Linked DNA regions of Homo sapiens: region 2 is linked to region 1. The links are contacts of gene promoters, found by promoter capture Hi-C in human tissues and cell types (Jung and others, 2019). All regions are on one chromosome and are shown on one strand. Each heading gives the region's core, a stretch centred on a gene start or on the middle of the fragment in contact. The rest is flanking DNA. Distances are from core to core; before and after follow the strand shown. Region 1 holds the start of ACAN (aggrecan). Region 2 has its middle 36 kb from the start of ISG20.

Region 1 (4,629 bases), core at 761-3,260:
CATTTTACAAATGAGAGCAATTTGTTCTCCCACAAGGCATCAGGTAAACACAGGCATGAGAATCCATGACCTCGTTGGAATTTCAGGGACTGTTTTTTTCCCAGAGGGTCATTTCTCCCTGTTCCAGGCATTGAGGCCAGTAACTATTAAGATTTCATCTCTTTTTTTTTTTTTGAGACGGAGTCTTGCTCTGTCGCCCAGCCTGGAGTGCAGTGGCGCCGTCTCAGCTCACTGCAAGCTCCGCCTCCCGGGTTCACGCCATTCTCCTGCCTCAGCCTCCTGAGTAGCTGGGACTACAGGCGCCCGCCGCCACGCCCGGCTAATTTTTTTGTATTTTTAGTAGAGATGGGGTTTCACCGTGTTAGCCAGGATGGTCTCCATCTCCTGACCTCGTGATCCGCCCGCCTCGGCCTCCCAAAGTGCTGGGATTACAGGCGTGAGCCACTGCGCCCGGCCTCATCTCATTTCTTTATCTGTGAGAGAAGCCACTATCACCCCCTAAGGGGCTTCGGTCACCAGCATTTTGTCTGTGTCCTAAATGCTTCAAGACTTACAGACCTGACTCAATACGCTCAGGTAGAAAAAGGGTGAAATCAAGAATGGCCAACCACTGGAACACTTTAGCCATTGCTCTGAGAGGTGGGTGGATAGAGTGGGCACTATGCTCCCTCCGACGGGGCTTCACTGCCCTGGACAGGGGAGAGACAGGCGGCTCACAGAGCATGTGCTGGGCCAGGGCCAGTCCCGCCCCCAGGCAGAGATGGCCAGTAAAATAACCACATAATTCCAGTGGAGTCGCCCTGGGGAAACCGAGGCACTTCAGTTCCTTTTCATCAAGGAACTGATTAAAGTGTGGTCTATTATCTCTGTAGTGGGGAGTCCCGAAAGATTCCACTTCTTCCTCTTCTTGCCCAATGAGAGGGTCAGGAAGCTTCCACCACCATCCTGACTGTGGCCACCACATCCTGGTGTGAAGCACCACCAGCTTCCTCCACAAGAACTCTGAAGGTCACCAGCCAGCTTGAGTCCTCCGAAGGTGCTGTGGCTCAACCAGCAGCCTGTGTAGCAGAGAGCACAAGACCTGGGACTCGAACTCAGTCCCACCTTCAAGAGGGATCTCCACCACTTTCTGAGCCTCAGTTTTCACATCTTTGGTTAGGGGCAGGTGGGAAGTTGCCATATTTACCTTGTTGGGCTCTTTGGAAAAATTAAATGAAATGTTAATGTATGTTACACAACGGGCTCATAGGAGGGATTCAAAAGCTGCTAGTTCTTTTTCTCCTTTTCCTGAAAACGGTATTAAAGAGTACTGTAGAGACACTGGAGAATTCCTGCTTCATATGAGATGTCCTTGGTCTCTCCCGGGGAATTTGAAGACCCAGAGACTCGCAGCTCCCCGTGAGCCTCCCCGCTGACGCCTTACCTCCCCCTCTCCACCATCCCCTGCCATCCCGGTGTACGCCACCCCCAAAAAAACTTTCAGCCAGCTCCTCGGTGAGGGTCGTTCCAAATCGTGGCCGACAGTAGCGGGCTGCACCCTCCTTAGATCGCGTCGTGGCCAGCCTCAGCTGCAGAACCCCGCCGGGCGCCCGGGAGCCCTGTCCCGCCGCGGCGGCCTCAGAGTCCGGGCACTTGGGGATTCTCTGAGGGTGCAGCCCTCCTGGGCCCCTCCGACTGCGGAGCTGCCGACCGCAATGCAGATGCGGGCCCTCCAGCCCTTCTCGCGCCGCCTTCCTCCCGCCAGCCCCGGAGCTGCCGGGTCCGCGCCGCCCCGGGGAGCGCTCCTCTCCCGCCCTGAGCGCAGGCCGGCTTCCCCATCGGCGCGCCGGTCCGGAGCCAGGGTCCAGCGCGCTCCAGACGCCTCTGCCTTCCCCTCCCCCTGTCGGCCGCCCCTCGGTCCCTGGGGGTGGGGTTTCCCTTTGCGCTCGCCCCCTCCCGCCCCCACCCCTCACGGGCCCTCCCCTCCCCCGCCCGTCCCTATGTATGTGTCACAGCGCGCCATGCCCGCCCGCCCGCCCACCTACCTCCCCGCCGCTCCAGAGGGGGCTCGCAGAGCTGAGGACGCGCGCAGCGCTGCTCAAGGTCTCTCTCTCTCAGCACCCTCGCCGGCCGGCGTCTGACGCGGGTGCCAGGGTCTCCGGGCACCTTTCAGTGTCCATTCCCTCAGCCAGCCAGGACTCCGCAACCCAGCAGTTGCCGCTGCGGCCACAGCCCGAGGGGACCTGCGGACAGGACGCCGGCAGGAGGAGGGGTGCGCAGCGCCCGCGCAGAGCGTCTCCCTCGCTACGCAGCGAGACCCGGGCCTCCCGGCCCCAGGAGCCCCCAGCTGCCTCGCCAGGTGTGTGGGACTGAAGTTCTTGGAGAAGGGAGTCCAACTCTTCAAGGTAACTGTCTCCTTCCCTCCAGAGCGAGGCTCTCCCAGGGCGCCCGGCGAGCCAGGAACGGGACTGAGACTGCACGCCCCGGGGCTGGGGGCTGCACTGCCTTGGTCTCCGCCCTAGAGCTATGTGTGCCGGGGGCGCAGCACATCCACCGGCTGCGTCCGCGGTGGAGTTGAGCAAACTTTTTGGCTGTTGCAGACTCAGTGAATGGGGCAAAGGAACACGTGAGGAGGGGCACTTGTCTCCTAGTCCGCCAGGATGAAGGAACAAGGGAGCCTTTTCTCCAAACACCTAGGTGATTTTAAATCCTAGGGTCTGGAAAGACCCATGGTTGACAGAGTAGCAGCTTCAGAGTCAAGGGAATGTGGGTTCAAATCCCCGAGGTGCTACTTTTGAGCTGGAAGGTGTGCTTCACCTTCCTGAGCCTTGGCCTGCCGTCTGTCAGCTGAGAGGGAAAAGGCCTTCGCGGGGTCTGGAAGAATAAATGAAATCATATGGACACTATGTCAGGGACACAGCGGGTCCTAAGCCGAGGCTAGATAGTCCATCCTTGGCCACTTGGCTTACTCCAGGGACCAGAGTGCCTGAAGAGTCTGCCCAGGGGAGAGTGGCAGAACCTGGGACAGAGCTACTGAACTGCCAGCAGGGGAGAGGAGAGCAGTGCCCTGAACACACGGGTGTCCAACCAAGAAGGGGCATTTCTCAAGGAAGAAAGGGGAGGGGAGTTGAGGACACACGACCACGAGCGGTTTTTCCGTCTGTGGGTTCCTCTTCAAACGAAGCCAATGCTGGTGGAGCAGGAGCCCTTTCCAACCCTGGGGCTGGGTTGGAGGCTGTCAGTATGTCAACTGAACCACACTCTGGGCAGAGCAAGCTGCGGGGGTGGGGGCTTGTCTCTGGTTGTGAGACAGGATCCAACCCAAACTTTTCCATCATTATCCTCCTTTCAGTCATGAGCTGGGTTCTGACAGGATCCTACTAGGGTTTCACCATGAAGAAGCTGGAGTTCCAGCATGTTGACTGATGTGTAAATTCTGGTTCTGTGGGGCTGGCTGCCAGGAGGAAAATACAAAGCTGAATTGGGTTAGCACGGTGTTTTGGGGTCCTGGGTGCTGCAGTGGGTGGGTGTCTGACAGTTTAGAGGGGACTCTGGACCTTGAAAATTCACCCACCTCGTCTGAAGAGGAGGGCAAGTGGACCCAGAAAGGTGCAATGAATTTCTGAAGGTTGAACTGTGACTTAGGGTCAAGGGCAGAACTAGAATCCAGGTTTTCTGAGGCCATAGTCGGTCCCTCGTCCTGATTTAAGAGTCCAGAATTCTTGGGTTCTAATCCTTATCTCTCTTTCTTGTCCTGGGTTGCCATGGACAAGGAGCAATCAGGTTGCTCATGCACCCTGGGCAAGGTGGGTTTGGAGGCACTATGAAGATACGGTTTAGGAGTGTTGGCTTGTCAATCACAGGCTCCAGGGAGAAACTGCAGGAAATGGAAAGGCAATGGGGAAGAAAACCCTGAAGCTCGTTGGGGGAGGAAGCATTGAGCGGCAGTGGGGAGGAGAGGTTCTAACCTGAAAGAAAGATTGCAGAATAGTAGATCTCCCCAGTATAAAAAGTTTCAGAAGAAGGAATTGTCCAAAGGAAGAAGATATCTCTTGGAGAGATGCTGGAATTCCACAGGTTACCTTGAGCTGTGTTTAATTTAGATATTCTTACGTGTAGTTTCTAGTGCTGTGCCTGGTATTTTCATTCATTCTCCAATATCTGCTGAGCGCCACCTAGGTGCCAGGCTCTGTGCTCAATGCTGGCCCACAGCGGGTACTCAATAAACAGCAGATATGAGATGACCCAAGCAAAGGGCTTAGCGTAGTGCCTGGCACTGGGCAAGTACTCAGTAACTGTTTCATATTATTAATATTACTATTATCATTCTTAATTCTAGTAGTAAATGAATGTTTTTCTTTTTCTAGAATATTCACTGACAATCATACTTAAAAGGGAATATTTTGTTTAATGTTCGGAAGCCCTCCACACACCCAGGCACACCTCTTGCCCCTGTTCCCCATCTCTCTCACACCCACACGCCCAATCCCAGGCAGCCACTCACCCCTGCATGCCAAGGCAGAGCGTTCTCCTCCTCTTATGCCCCCTCCCCAATTAGAGAGGGAGCTCCAAGAGAGAGCTCACCTCCTGAGACAGTCGGCAAGAGCCAGGAGGGTGGACAGCCTGCATGCAAGGAAGACTGGGATTCAA
Region 2 (4,888 bases), core at 329-2,828, 130 kb before region 1:
AAAATTATTTTTACATCATCAAAAAGCATCAAGTGAGGAACATAACTTGTAACCTAAAATTCTATACCCAAGCAAAGTACAGATCAAATATGAAAACAAAATAAAGTGATGCTTTAAGAAATCTACACCTTCAAGTACTTATCTTCCACATCTCTTTTTAAAGAAGCTATTGGAAGATATGCTCCACCCAAATGGAGGAGGAAACTGAAAAAGAGGAACTCCAGTAGAAGAGAAAGGTGTAAGATATTCCCGGGAAGATGAGGATAGGATGTCTCCAGATGACAGCGGTGTATTGAGCCCAGAGAGGAGCCAACCTAGAGTGCAGAGGGGGGTCCTGAATATCTGTCAATAACAAAAGGGAATCATACCAAAAGGAGGTTCTATTAGTTTGAGATGAGTTAATACTAGGCACATAGAAAACTAAGTTAAAAAGAGAGACAATTACTAGTGCCAAGAATGAGAAAATGTACAAAAGTAGTAGGTATGTTGCCCTTTTGTCATAATTTACATAATAATAACAATAGAAGCATTGAATATTGATTTAATTCCCCCAAATCATGAGGTAACTATTTTGGAAGGGTCAGGAGAGATGTGTGTTATATCTTCTTCTTGTTCTTTTTTTTTTTTTTTTTTTTGAGGTGGAGTTTCGCTCTTGTTGCCCAGGCTGGAGTACAATGGCGCTATCTTGGCTCATTGCAACCTCCGCCTCCCCAGTTCAAGCGATTCTCCTGCCTCAGCCTCCTAAGTAGCTGAGATTACAGGCACCCGCCACCACACCTGGCTAATTTATATATTTTTAGTACAGATGGGATTTCACCATGTTAGCCAGGCTGGTCTCAAACTCCTGACGTCAGGTGTTTGTTTTTTTTGAGACTGAGTTTTGCTTTTTGGCCCAGGCTGGAGTGAAGTGGTGTGATCTTGGCTCACTGCAACCTCCGCCCCCTAGGTTCAAGTGATTCTCCTGCCTCAGCCTCCTGAGTAGCTGGGACTACAGGCGCACACCACCATGACCAGCTAATTTTTGTATTTTTAATAGAGACAGGGTTTCACCATGTTGGCCGGGCTGGTCTTGAACTCCTGACCTCAGATGATCCACCCACCTTGGTCTCCCAAAGTGCTAGGATTACAGGTGTGAGCCACCTCGCCCGGCCATATCTTCATATTTCATAGGAAGAAGTCAGTACGTAATATTCCAAATAGGATGGCAAAGAAATATCAACATACGGGTACTGTTTAGAAATTAGAACTAACTACAGGAAGAAAAAGCTAAATGGTTGGAAAATGCTTACCTTTGGGTAGCAGTTATGTGTGATGTGGAGCATTTGGCCAGGAGGCCACTGTTTTTTATTATAATCTTTGTGATATTTAATTTTTAGAAGAATTATTTAGGTATTATTTTTATAGAAAAATCAAATCAAATAAAATGCAGTGGGGGAGATGGGTGAATGGTATTGAGGGCTTCAACTATATTAATAATGGTTTATTTCTTAGGTGATAGGTATACAGGTGTTTGGTATGTTATTTATATGCATCTCACGTATCCAATATATAATTATTTTTAAACAGCAACAACAAAGCAGTGCTATTCAGAGAGGGTGACTGAAGGCCCAGGGTCATGGAATATAAAAGATGGGACAGAGCTTGAATGCAGACGTTAGCCTGGGGAAAAGGAAGGAAGAATAGTTCTGACCATACCAATGGGAGAGGGGTTAGAAAAGGTGGCTAGAGAGATATTTTGAATTGTAGTTGGAAAAAGTTGAGAAATTACAAGTTGAGAAATTTCTCAACTTCTTGTTGGCGGAAAATAGAGTTGGAGTTCTGGCTGAAGATAGGGAAGTTATAGGAGTGTATTTTTCCCTAGGGCTGTTGTAACAAATATCACAACCTTGAGGGCTTAAAACAACAGAAATATATTCTCTCACAGTTCTGGAGGCCAGATCTAAAATCAAGGTGTTGGCGAGGCCAGCCCCCCTCTGCAGGCTCTGCGGTGAATCCATTCCTTGTCTCTTCTAGCTTCTGGTGGCTGCTGGCATTCCATGGTGTTCTTTGGCTTACAGCAGCATCATTCCAACGCCTGCCTCCATCTTCACATAGCCCTTTCTGCATGTGGTGACGTATAATCTCCTTCTGCCTCTCTTTCATGGGGAGACTTGCAATAGCATTCAGGACCCACCCAGATAATCCAGGATTAGCTCCTCATTTCAAGGTGCTTAATTTAATAACATTGACAAAGTTCTTTCTTCCAAGTAAGGCAACATTCATAGATTCCAGGGATTTGATGTGGATATCTTTTGGTGGACCATTTTTCAGCTTGCCACAGAAAGTGATTGGATTTAAGGAAACAAATTATTTTTTATTGCTTCCCAGGAGAAATTCAGTAAGAAGTCAATAAAAGCAGAAAAATGGTTGCTGAATATCAATGAGATAGATCTGAATCAACCAACATGAATTTTTTTAATGTGATTTTTTTTTCAACAAGCTCAAATGTCTATTTTCTGTGATTTTGTATCAATTTTGTATCAAATGTCTTTTTATTTTCTGTGATTGCTTTATCACTTTGATCAGCAAGAAAACAGAAACATTTTATTAACAAATTTGTAGATTTTAGGTGTGGCAGGTAAAAAGAGATATGGAGAAAAATGTGTTGAATAAATATAAACCAATTAAAGCTTGGGTTGCAAATTTAAATTCTTAGAAATAGAATTTCAAGTAACAAACATCATAAGGGACAAAGAGGCATTTTATGGATTAATAAAAGGAACACAGACCAAGAAGACATAAACATAAACATATATGCATCTAGCAATATAGCCCAGGATTATATAATGCCAGGCAGTCCAAAAGAACTTTCTGCAGTGACAGAAATGTTCTATATCTGCATTGTTCAATACAGTAACCACTAACAACATGTGGCTGCTGAACACTTGAAATGTGGCTACTGTGACTCAGGAATTGAAGATTTAACTTTAATTAATTCAGACTTATTTATTTATTTTTTGAGACAGGGTCTTCCTCTATTGCCCAGTGGCAGGATCATGGCTCATTGTAGCCTCCACCTCCTGGACTCAAGCAATTCTCCTGCCTCAGCCTCTCAAGTAGTTGGGACTATAGGCGTGCATCATCATACCCGACTAATTTTTTTTAAATTGTTTGCAGGTCTCACTATGTTACCCAGGCTGGTCTCAAACTCCTGGGATCAAGTGATTCTCCTATGTTGGACTCCCAAAGTGCTGGGAATACAGGCATGAGCCACTGTGCCCTGCCAATTAAAATGTAAATAGCCACATGTGTCTACTACCTACTACACTGGACAGTCTTGATGAAACAACAGCTGGAAGAATCATGAACAGAACTAAATAAAGCAACAATAATAGTTGAAGATAGTAATATACTCCTCTCAGAAGTGAACAGACTAAGCAAACCAGAAAGATAACTCTGAGTTGGTATTGGCAGATTCCTCCACAATAATAACCTTTATTGTCTTTGCTTTTATTTCCTATTTTCACCCCCAAATTTGCACTGTTTATTGTTTAATAACAAATAGACATATTCCTTTTTTTTTTTTTTTTTTTTTTTGAGACAGTATTGCTCTCTCGCCCAGGCTGCAGTGTGGTGGCACAATCTTGGCTCACTGCAACCTCTGCCTCCCAGGTTCAAGCAATTCTCCTGCCTCAGCCTCCCAAGTAGCTGGAATTACAGGCTTGTGCCACCACGCCCGGCTAATTTCTGTATTTTTAGTAGAGATGGGGTTTCACCATGTTGGTCGGGCTGGTCTTGAACTCCTGACCTCAGGTGATCCCCCACCTTGGCCTCCCAAAATGCTAGGATTAACAGGTGTAAGCCACCGCGCCCGGCCAGACACAACTGATTTCATTCACTGTCATCATGACTCACGTTTTATCATGTTTTAGGGATTTAAAAATATTTTTCCCCTTTAAGACCCTGAGTCAATATTTGGATGTTCCATTGGATTGAGGTCAAGAAACAGTAAGTTCCACCCTCAGCACACTCTTCACTTTCATATGTTCCCATCACTCCAGCTCCTCTCCAGCTACTGCCATATCTCCCCTTCCCCTCACAGTCAAGCTTTACCCCAGGGCAGCCTGTATTTACTGTATTGTCTTTTCTTCTCCTTCTGAATTTCCTGGTGTCTGTCCTCAAGACTTCACTGAAACTGCTCTAACCTGCATTCTCAATGACCTTCCAATACTCAAATCCAATGGACACTTTCCAGTGCTTATCCTGTGTGATTTCTCCGCAGCATATATTAATGTCAACCACAATCTCCTGGAACTCTCTTTTATTATTATTATTTTTTTGTATAACCAGCCTCTCCTTCTTTCCAGCTCACTCTCTACCCCTTTGTAGATCCCTCTTCTGCCTGCCACTTAAATGTCAGCATTTTCTTCTTAGCACTTCCTTCTCAGTCATCTCTGTTTCTCACTCTGCCTTGTCTCACTGGGAAATTTTACTTAAGTCTATAACTACAATCACTCCTTTAGCTGATGATCCACCAGTGTCTTTCTTAAGTTCTAATCTTTTCAACTGGACAATCTGCAGGCATTTCAAACTCAACATGTCCCATACTCTTACACAGCCTCACCGTTCCCATTTTACCTTTCTCATGTATTTCTATCTTGACTTCAGGACTTTCTCATCCACCCAAGTCATTCAAGCCAGAAACAAGAGCTTTCTTTGGCTCTTGTCTCTTTCACCTCCCACATCTAATTATCCTCCTAATCCTAAAGCTTCCATTTCCCAGGTATCTCCTGCATTCACTCTGCTCTCATCTTCACTGCCTTAGCTCATGACCTCATCATTGCTCTCCTGGATTATTGAAGTTTTCTTCCACTGGCCCTCTACCCACAATCTTGCCTTCCCTCATTGT

The links. Contacts are between HindIII fragments. The study calls those that stand out against the background at their distance.
Region 2: a contact is called between a fragment that was not itself captured here and the fragment with the promoter of ACAN in region 1, in 1 of the 25 tissues and cell types used here (H1 embryonic stem cells).

The regions. Positions count from the first base shown.
Region 1 is chr15:88,801,426-88,806,054 of GRCh38, forward strand. ACAN (aggrecan) reads left to right here and starts at 2,011. Exons shown (of 19, transcript NM_001369268.1): 1 at 2,011-2,384. LOC105370960 (a long non-coding RNA gene) reads right to left here and starts at 2,093. Exons shown (of 3, transcript XR_001751648.1): 1 at 2,025-2,093. The HindIII fragment of the contact is 7,348 bases long and covers 164-4,629 here.
Region 2 is chr15:88,672,719-88,677,606 of GRCh38, forward strand. No RefSeq gene overlaps it. Among named protein-coding and RNA genes, the nearest start is that of ISG20, 36 kb to the left of the region's middle. The HindIII fragment of the contact is 3,597 bases long and covers 1-3,377 here.